Linked DNA regions of Homo sapiens: region 1 is linked to region 2. Evidence: promoter capture Hi-C in 16 types of primary human blood cells and fetal thymus (Javierre and others, 2016). All regions are on one chromosome and are shown on one strand. Each heading gives the region's core, a stretch centred on a gene start or on the middle of the fragment in contact. The rest is flanking DNA. Distances are from core to core; before and after follow the strand shown.

Region 1 (4,372 bases), core at 122-2,621, 120 kb before region 2:
CGGCCTTGGTTCCTGCAGGTTAGGGTGCTGTCCTTGGGCAGGCTATGCCCAGTCTACTTGTCCAGAGGTCAGGTAATGCACTCTCTTGAATCCCAGCAAGTCCCCCACCTAGCTCAGGAGCTAGCACACTATCAAGAAGTAAACTGTTCCTTCTGCACAGAGGCAGAGGAGCCCTCTTCTTTTCCACAGCTATCTCACATCTCCTTGGAAAGGTAGTAAGGGCTATAACTTTAGTGCCTGAAAATTTTCTTTGAAACACTGGCTGTATGGCAAAAGCACCAGGACAAAGACATACAACATTGAAGACAGGAAGAAAGGAGGAAGGTGAAAGCTTCACAGCAAGTTACATCCTTACAGCAGGAAACTGATTGGCTGGTGGGAGCAACAGCGGCGGCGGCGGTATCACTCTGGCTTGGAGCCTATAGAGTGAGCTAGCCCTGAGATCTGAGGAGCAACCATTGGCAAGTAAGCCTTTGGGAAAGTCTGGCACAGGAACAGGTGGGAAAAGGGGCTCAACAAGCCTGTTAAAGAGCTCCCTTGCCTCTCCATTTTGGACAAGTCATGAATTCTATTTCACATTAAAATAAAGTTTTGTTTAATAAACACTAGGCAGCAGGTATGTGTTGGTGCAGGGGAAAAAAATTCTCTGCCTACTGACAAGGGACCCTCACCCACACTTGAAAGTGAACTAACCGAGAATGCGACTCTGGAACTAGCCCCTGCGCTGTGTTCATTCTCCGCCCTCTAGGGTCCTCTGTGTTTCCTCAGACAGGGCTCTGAGTTATACAAGCCATTTCTTTGCAATTGGACCTCAGTTTCTTGCTTGAATCCATACATCTGTCAAATAATGCTTTACCTCTCTGCTTTTCACATCAAAAAAGTCAAGAGAAATACACAGGATAAAATTATTGTCTTGTCAAAACCAAGGAAAATTGCCCATCTACCTAGGTCTTAGCATCTGGTCTGAGACACTATTCCCTGGCTTGTTCTCAAGGCTAAGGACAATGATAATAAAAATCGCTAACATTTATTAAGCACTTACTAAGAGCCAGAAACCACGAAGTACATTATCTTATTTAATCCCCTAAATGATCCGATGAAATAACATTATCTACACTTTACAGATGAGGACCTATGTTCACAGAGGTGGGGTCACCCAGGTGGTGAAGGGCACAGCTGGACTTACATCTGGGCTGTAGAGAAGGGATCTCCTGTTTCATTTTTCTTTTTCCTTTTGTTTTGACTGAGGGATCTCCTGTTTCATTCACCAGCTTCTGCTCAGTATTAGGGACAGGTAATCTGGCCTTAGGGACCAATCAGAAAAGAGACAGGCTCTGTATGCAGGGAAGGATCTGGGAAGGACCACTCTATCAAGCTCCACCAATGCAGGAAGTTAGTCAAGATGAAGCGCCCCCTCCTTTTTTTTTTTTTTTTTTCCCTGAGACAGAGTTTCGCTCTTGTTGCCCAGGCTGGAGTGCTATGGCGTGATCTCGGCTCACTGCAACCTCCGCCTCCCAGGTTCAAGCGAGTCTCCTGCCTCAGCCTCCCGAGTAGCTGGGATTATAGATATATGCCACCACGCTTGGCTAATTTTGTATTTTTAGTAGAGACGGGGTTTCTCCACGTTGGTCAGGCTGGTCTCGAATTCCCAACCTTAGGTAATCCGCCCACCTCGGCCTCCCAAAGTGCTGGGATTACAGGCGTAAGCCACTGCGCCTGGCCGTCTTTTTTTTTTTTTTGAGACAGAGTCTTGCTCTGTCACTCACTCTCAAGTACAGTGGCACGATCTCGGCTCACCACAACCTCCGCCTCCCAGGTTCAAGCAATTCTCCTGCCTCAGCCTCCCGAGTAGCTGGGACTACAGGCGCACACCACCATGCCTGGCTAATTTTTGTATTTTTAGTAGAGATGGGGTTTCACTATGTTGGTCAGGCTGGTCTCGAACTCCTGACCTCGTGATCTGCCCGCTTTGGCCTCCCAAAGTGCTGGGATTACAGACGTGAGCCACTGTGTCCGGCCTAAGATGAACCCCTTCTAAGCCCAGAGACAGGATATAACATCTTTAAGAGCATGGACTGTAGGCTGAGTTCCCTAAATTTGAATCCTGCCTCTACTCCATGACCTTCAGCAAGGTCCTTAACTTCTTTGTGCTTCCATTTCCTCATCTGTAAAGTAAGGACAACAGTACCTATTTCTTAGGGTGGTTGTGAAGATTAAGTAAATTCATACATGTAAAGAGCTTAGCATAGAATATAGTGAGGGCTCAAGAAATGTTGATCATTATAAGCCCTAGGAACCAAAAAAGACCAGCATCAGCAGGTGGGAGTCAAACAGCCACTCATTTCACCTTGCTTGCTTGCTAGGTAGGAATATTCCACCACCCATTTTAATCTCCTGAAAGACTAAGCTTTCATACGGAATGGTCACTACACATCAGAAACTGTATCTTTACGACAGTACTTTGTGTTGTCAAATTACTGGTCCAGATCTCACAGTCTACTTAATCTTGCTGGCCTTTTATTTATTTTCAGCAACAAAGAGTATCTGGTACCAAAAAGGAGCTTAGTAAGCTCTTGTTGAATGAATCAAAGACTGAATAGAGCCAACTATCCCTGGAGGACCTGGTGCTTGGTACACAGTGGCTCTGGAGGGAGATACTGCTGTTAGAGCATACATCTGTATACCCAATCCATAAAACATGTGGGTTGTCATTTGAACAGTGAGTAAGAACAAGGCACTACTGTCAATTTCAGTCACCTGCAAATTCTGATTTCACCAACTGGAGGCATTAATGGATTCAGGTATTTCTAAGGCACTTTATACTTCTCAGACAACAAAAATGTTCCAGTAGCTGTGGATGACCTTTTGTTGAGGGCAGGGAACTCCCCTTGCCAGGAGTCCCCATCAGCATGTCAACTTTGAGATTACTTTTACCTCATGTGTTACAAAAGCAATGATTTCTTATTCTCACAGAATCATCTATAACTCGGGCAGTCCTTTTTCTCAACCTGCACATAGTTAGACATAGGACAGTGACCACTGCTAAAGAATGTGAAATGGTTTTAACATCACTGTTGAAGGGTAGCCAATTGTTTCTTTTTCTCTCTTAAAAAAATTATTATTATTTTTCCAAAACCAAAAAGGGTCAATATAGCCAATTGTTTAATAAGAATAGGTAGTCATAGGACAAACCTGTATGAGAACAATTTATCTATGATTTGATTCCCCAGCTGCTATCATACACAGGCAACTCAGATATACCAAGCACAGGTATGACATACATACACTGCACCCCTCCCCATTGCTGCCTTTCTCTGGATTTCAGAAAACAGACCTGTCAGTGTCTCCTAGGAAAGTATCCTGTAGGGAGTTAGATTAATGAATGGGTAGGATGATGCAATCACCTTCAGTAGATGTCCATTCTTTTTTTTTTTTTTTGAGACGGAGTCTCGCTCTGTCGCCAGGCTGGAGTGCAGTGATGCGATTTTGGCTCACTGCAACCTCCGCCTCCCAAGTTCGAGCAATTCTCCTGCCTCGGCCTCTCGAGTAGCTTGTATTTTAGCAGAGATGGGGTTTCACCATGTTGGCCAGGATGGGCTCTACCTCCTGACCTCATGATCCACCCGCCTCAGCCTCCCAAAGTGCTGGGATTACAGGCATGAGCCCCAGCGCCCAGCCGTGGATGTCCATTCTTAATTGCCTATTATCTATTAGAGTATCTTCACACATTAGAATATTTATTCATCTTTTGATTTATTGAGTTATTAAGCTACTCAAGCAAAGGAGTCATGAAAGCCATGTGTCTGATTAACCAGGTCTGGCTCCTAAAGAGGTACCATATAGGCCAGGCACGGTGGCTCACGCCTGTAATCCTAGCACTTTGGGAGGCCGAGGCGGGTGGACTGCCTGAGCTCAGTTCGAGACCAGCCTGGGCAACACAGTGAAACCCTGTCTCTACTAAAATACAAAAAATTAGCTGGTTGCGGTGATATACACCTGCAGTCCCAGCCAGTCGGAAGACTGAGGCAGAATTGCTAGAACCCGGGAGGTGGAGGTTGCACTGAGCCAAGATCACGCCACTGCACTCCAGCCTGGGTGACAGAGTGAGACTCCGTCTCTTTAAAAAAAAAAAAAAAAAGGCTGGGCACGGTGGCCCATGCCTGTAATCCCAGCACTTTGGGAGGCTGAGGTGGGAGGATCACAAGGTCAGGAGATCAAGACCATCCCTGCCAACATGGTGAAATCCCGTCTCTACTAAAAATACAAAAGTGAGCTGGGTGTGGTGGCACATGCTTGTAATCCCAGCTACTCGGGAGGCTGAGGCAGGAGAACCGTTTGAACCAGGAAGTCAGAGGTTGCAGTGAGCCAAGAT
Region 2 (4,189 bases), core at 604-3,103:
GCAGAGAATGTTATATCTTGACTTAAACTCTCCTTCCTTCCTTCCTTCCTCCCTCCCTCCCTTCCTTCCTTCTTTCTTAACTTTCTCCTTCTTGTTGTCCATGATCATGGCTCACTTCAGACTTGATCTCCTGGGCTCAAGTAATTCTTCCTGCTTCAGCCTGTGGAGTAATTGGGATTACAAGGCTGTGCCACCAAGCCCAGCTCATGGCTCAAACTCTTATAGTGTAATAATTAGAGAAAACAACTGTATAAATGATTCTTGCCCTAAGGGAGGGAACTTGGACTTCTGAGCTAATGAGGAGATAAAATACTGAGTGATCTGTGGAGACCTGGAGAGACTCTCAGTTAAGGAATAGGGCATTTTCTTATGTCCTTACCTAAAAGTGGGGGACATGGGGGTGAGAAAGCTTCCCTTAGACTATGTGCAAGAACTTGATAGCCTTATGCAAAGCCATCTTCAGTGAAAGGCCACAGCTTTGTCACCATGTCAGTCACAGGCCAGTGTTGTGGAAGCAGGCTACAAGTGGCAGCCATCTGAGACTGGAAGAAAAGCCCAGGGGCGGAGCTCTACCCTAACTCCAGTGTAGGGCTTAGAGAGGAAAAGGACACTGCCCCCAGGTGCTTGTGGAGCAGCAGGGAAAGTCAGAGGAGTGATCTGACTTTTTTTTTCATCCTATTAACTTTTGGGAGAATTAACCATAAGGCTGTAAAGTGAATTAATTGCTTCAGAAAAGAACATGAGCAGTGGTGCCAAACACTAATTTTACTTTTTAAAACCATCTCTAAAAATAAGGGTCTTTTGGGAGAGCCTGTTGTTGACTGTTTTCCTGTTGTTTTTATTGCTTTGCGTCTAGGAAATTACAAACAATGATTCTTTGCAATGGTAAATCACCTGGGGAGCTTTTAAAACAATAGTGATGCCTGGCTCCCCAACACTCCACCCTACTCTAAATTCAATTAAATCAAAATCTCTAGGGCTGGTGTCCAGGCATTAGTTTTTTTGTTGTTGTTTTTGAGACAGGGTCTCGCTCTGGTGCTCAGGCTGGAGTGCAGGGCATGATCATGGCTCACAGCAACCTCGACCTCCTGGAATCCCACTTCAGCCTCCCGAGTATCTGGGACTACAGGCACACGCCATCAAGCCTGGCTAGTTTTTGTATTTTTAGTAGAGATGGGGTTTCACCATGTTGGCCAGGCTGGTCTGGAACTCCTGACCTCAAGTGATCCGCCCACCTCGGTCTCCCAAGTGTTGGGATTACAGGCGTGAGCCGCCTCGCCCGTCCTAGTTCTTTTTTTTTTTTTTTAAAGCTTCCCGGCTTATTCTATGTGCCGTCAGAGTTGAGAACTACCGTTCTAGAGCATTATACTGATACATTAAAACGTGGCTACAAATATGTTTTTAGAAACAATTAGTGCGACTTTTGCGCATGCCCACATCCTTTACAGCCTGTGTGGCTGGGCCCACTAATGACATTTATCCAGTCCCCCAAACTTGCACTGTCCTTCCACAATCAGTGGGAGAAACAATCCTAACGTCCCTTTCTCTCACTTGAAATGAACTGCTAGCTGGCTCGGACGGAGAGGCCCAGAGTCCAGGGCTGTTCTGTGTGGGACTCTAGACTCGGAGGAGGCGCCCAGGCCCCTAGAAGGCGGCGCCGGATGAGGCAATCGCGGACCCGGGTCAGGACCTGCCCACGGCTCTGCTGGGACTAGGAGCCCAGAACCAGTCCCTCGGCGCCGCAGGCGGCCAAACGCTAAGGACTACATTTCCCACAATGCACCCCGGGGGCGGGCCGAGTCGGGCTGAGCGGCTGGAGCTGGGCCTTGGCCGCGAGAGGCCGGCGAAAGCTATCTTCCTGCACCGGCGGCCGGGTGAGGGCGGTGGGAGGGAGCGGTGCCTGCGCTGTGGCCATGTCTGTGTACGCAGGGGGCCGGGGCCCCGCGAAGCTGTGCCCTCAGGCCGGCCCCGGCCGGACACCCTTACCCCTCCATGGGTCCGGCAGAGGGCAGTGACCGGCACCTTCTGTGCGTCCTGGACTCCTCTGAGAAACAGGTGAGTTGACTGCCAGCCCACGTGGCCTGGAGGCACCTAGAGACTGGAGAGCTGTCATCTTTGGAGGGAGGGGCTTGAAGACGGGGGCCTCCAGCCATCAACGCTATCGTTTGCAATGGGAAGACTGTGTCTCCCTGCGGTCCCTCAGCCGGCTAGTCCCCAGCTGGGGAATACAAAAGGCGAGATCTGGAACCCATCCTTTGGCTGGGAGGGCGAGATCCGGTAGGGGGCAGTGGCCAGGTAGGACTCTCCCCACTCCCCCACCCCCGCCCCGCCAACAAACGTACACATATTCGGCCGGTAGAGTCTTCTCAAAAAGCAACAGAGGTAACTGGGATGAGCGGGGCAGCACCTGGAAGGGGCTTGGGTCTTTGCTTTGTTGTTTTTAGACGGAGTTTCACTCTTGTTGCCCAGTCTGGAGTGCAGTGGTGTGATCTCAGCTCTCTGCAACCTCCGCCTCCCAGGTTCAAGCGATTCTCCTGCCTCAGCCTCCCGAGTAGCTGGGATTACAGGCATGCGCCACCACGCCCAGCTAATTTTTTGTATTTTTGTATTTTTTTAGTAGAGACGGGGTTTCACCATGTTGGCCAGGCTCGTCTTGAACTCCTGACCTCAGGTGATCTGCCTGCCTCAGCTTCCCAAAGTGCTGGGATTACAGGCATGAGCCACTGCGCCTGGCCGGACTTTGCACCAGTTTGCCTGGTGCAACTGGGTTGTCCCTTGTACTGGGTGAGCCACCCTTTCTGGGCACAAGTTTGCAGAGGGAGAGTGAGCACCCTTTGTCAGGGAGGGAAGTAACCGCCAGAAGTGACAAGGACCAGACTGTGATCTCAGCATGGAGTAGGCATCCTGCTGAAGCAGCCATAGCACAGCCTCACCTGGGCCTTGTCTGCCACACATCCTGTATCCTGGCACCTCCTTTCCAGACAGGCCGCTCCAAAGGGTTAAGGTGAAATGAAGTGCTATCCAAGCAAGAAGAGGGAGCAGGAGTGGTAGGGAGTCAGTAGGGAGGGGCTTCTGAAGGCCTTCTCTGCTCCAAGGCTGCCTGAGTGAGAGAGGCACACTACAAGGGCTGATTGAGCCAACTTGTTTGGTGACATTGCTCACAGGCATAGCAGGGCACTTCTAGGAAAAGCAAGGCCTGGGGCTTCTAGAGGGGTTGTCTGAGAAGGGTTCCCTGAGAAGGGGCATCTGGGGCTGGTTCTAAGAGACCTCCTTTGCCTAACTTCTTCAATTCTAGCCTCCCAGGAGCTTCAGTTGCACAGTTGTGGCTCCAATGGGGGTTGGGGTGGATTTTGCTGTGATTCACTCAGCCTCCCTGTCTGAGTTTCCAGAGTAAGTATTCAGAGAGCTGTTTGCTTCATCAGGCCTCTGGCTGGACCCCAGACTGACCTAGGAGATGCTGAGATACTGTATGATCTCAGGTGGCAGGAGAACTATTGTGAAGGAAGCATCCACTAGCTCTGGCCAGCTGATCTGGCCCCCGCCAACCCTTCCCCATGCAGGTACCGTGCTGGGTACCACTCAGCCACACTGGGCTTAGTCAGCTAAAGCCCACAAGGGATCAGTGGAGAGTGGGCCCTGAGGACAGAATAAGTAAGCTATTGTAGACCTTGTTTGGGTCTTTGAACCAAAAGTGCAACGTCACAGAGCAGTGGCATGTGGCAGACCAAGGAGTTTTTTGTTTTTTTTTGTTGTTTTTTTTTTTGAGACAGAGTTTCAATCTTTTGCCCAGGCTGGAGTGCAATGGCGCGATATCAGCTCACTGCAACCTCTGCCCCCTGGGTTCAAGTGATTCTCCTGCCTCAGCCTCCTGAGTAGCTGGGATTATAGGCGCCTGCCACCATACCTGGCTAATTAAGGAGTTTAATTTAGGAGATACTTCCAAGAGCAGCAGAGAGCCCGTTGTCTATTCCTGCAACTCCAGAGCCAGTGAACAACCAGTTAGCCTGGAGGAACTCCCAGCTGTCTATAAGACAGCTCTTTGACCTGACTCCCAACTGTCTATATGATAGCCCTAGCCTGAAGGTGAGTCGCTTCAGGCTAGGGCCCACCTGGCTTTGCAAGGTCAGAAGCGTATTTGCCCATATGCCACTGTAGGCTGAGCAAAATCTCAGAGGCCCGATTTACATGG

What was found. The method cuts DNA at HindIII sites, captures the fragments that hold promoters and counts their contacts. A CHiCAGO score of 5 or more calls a contact.
Region 1: a fragment that was not itself captured here is called in contact with the fragment with the promoter of MON1A in region 2 in 1 of 17 cell types (endothelial precursors); the score reaches 8.3 in endothelial precursors.

The regions. Positions count from the first base shown.
Region 1 is chr3:50,043,648-50,048,019 of GRCh38, reverse strand. The region is part of intron 6 of RBM6 (RNA binding motif protein 6); the gene reads right to left. Among named protein-coding and RNA genes, the nearest start is that of RBM5, 43 kb to the left of the region's middle. The HindIII fragment of the contact is 2,076 bases long and covers 334-2,409 here.
Region 2 is chr3:49,927,475-49,931,663 of GRCh38, reverse strand. It overlaps MON1A (MON1 vesicular trafficking associated A), which reads left to right and starts at 1,853. Exons shown (of 6, transcript NM_032355.4): 1 at 1,853-2,055. RefSeq lists a silencer at 1,797-2,146. The HindIII fragment of the contact is 4,855 bases long and covers 1,313-4,189 here.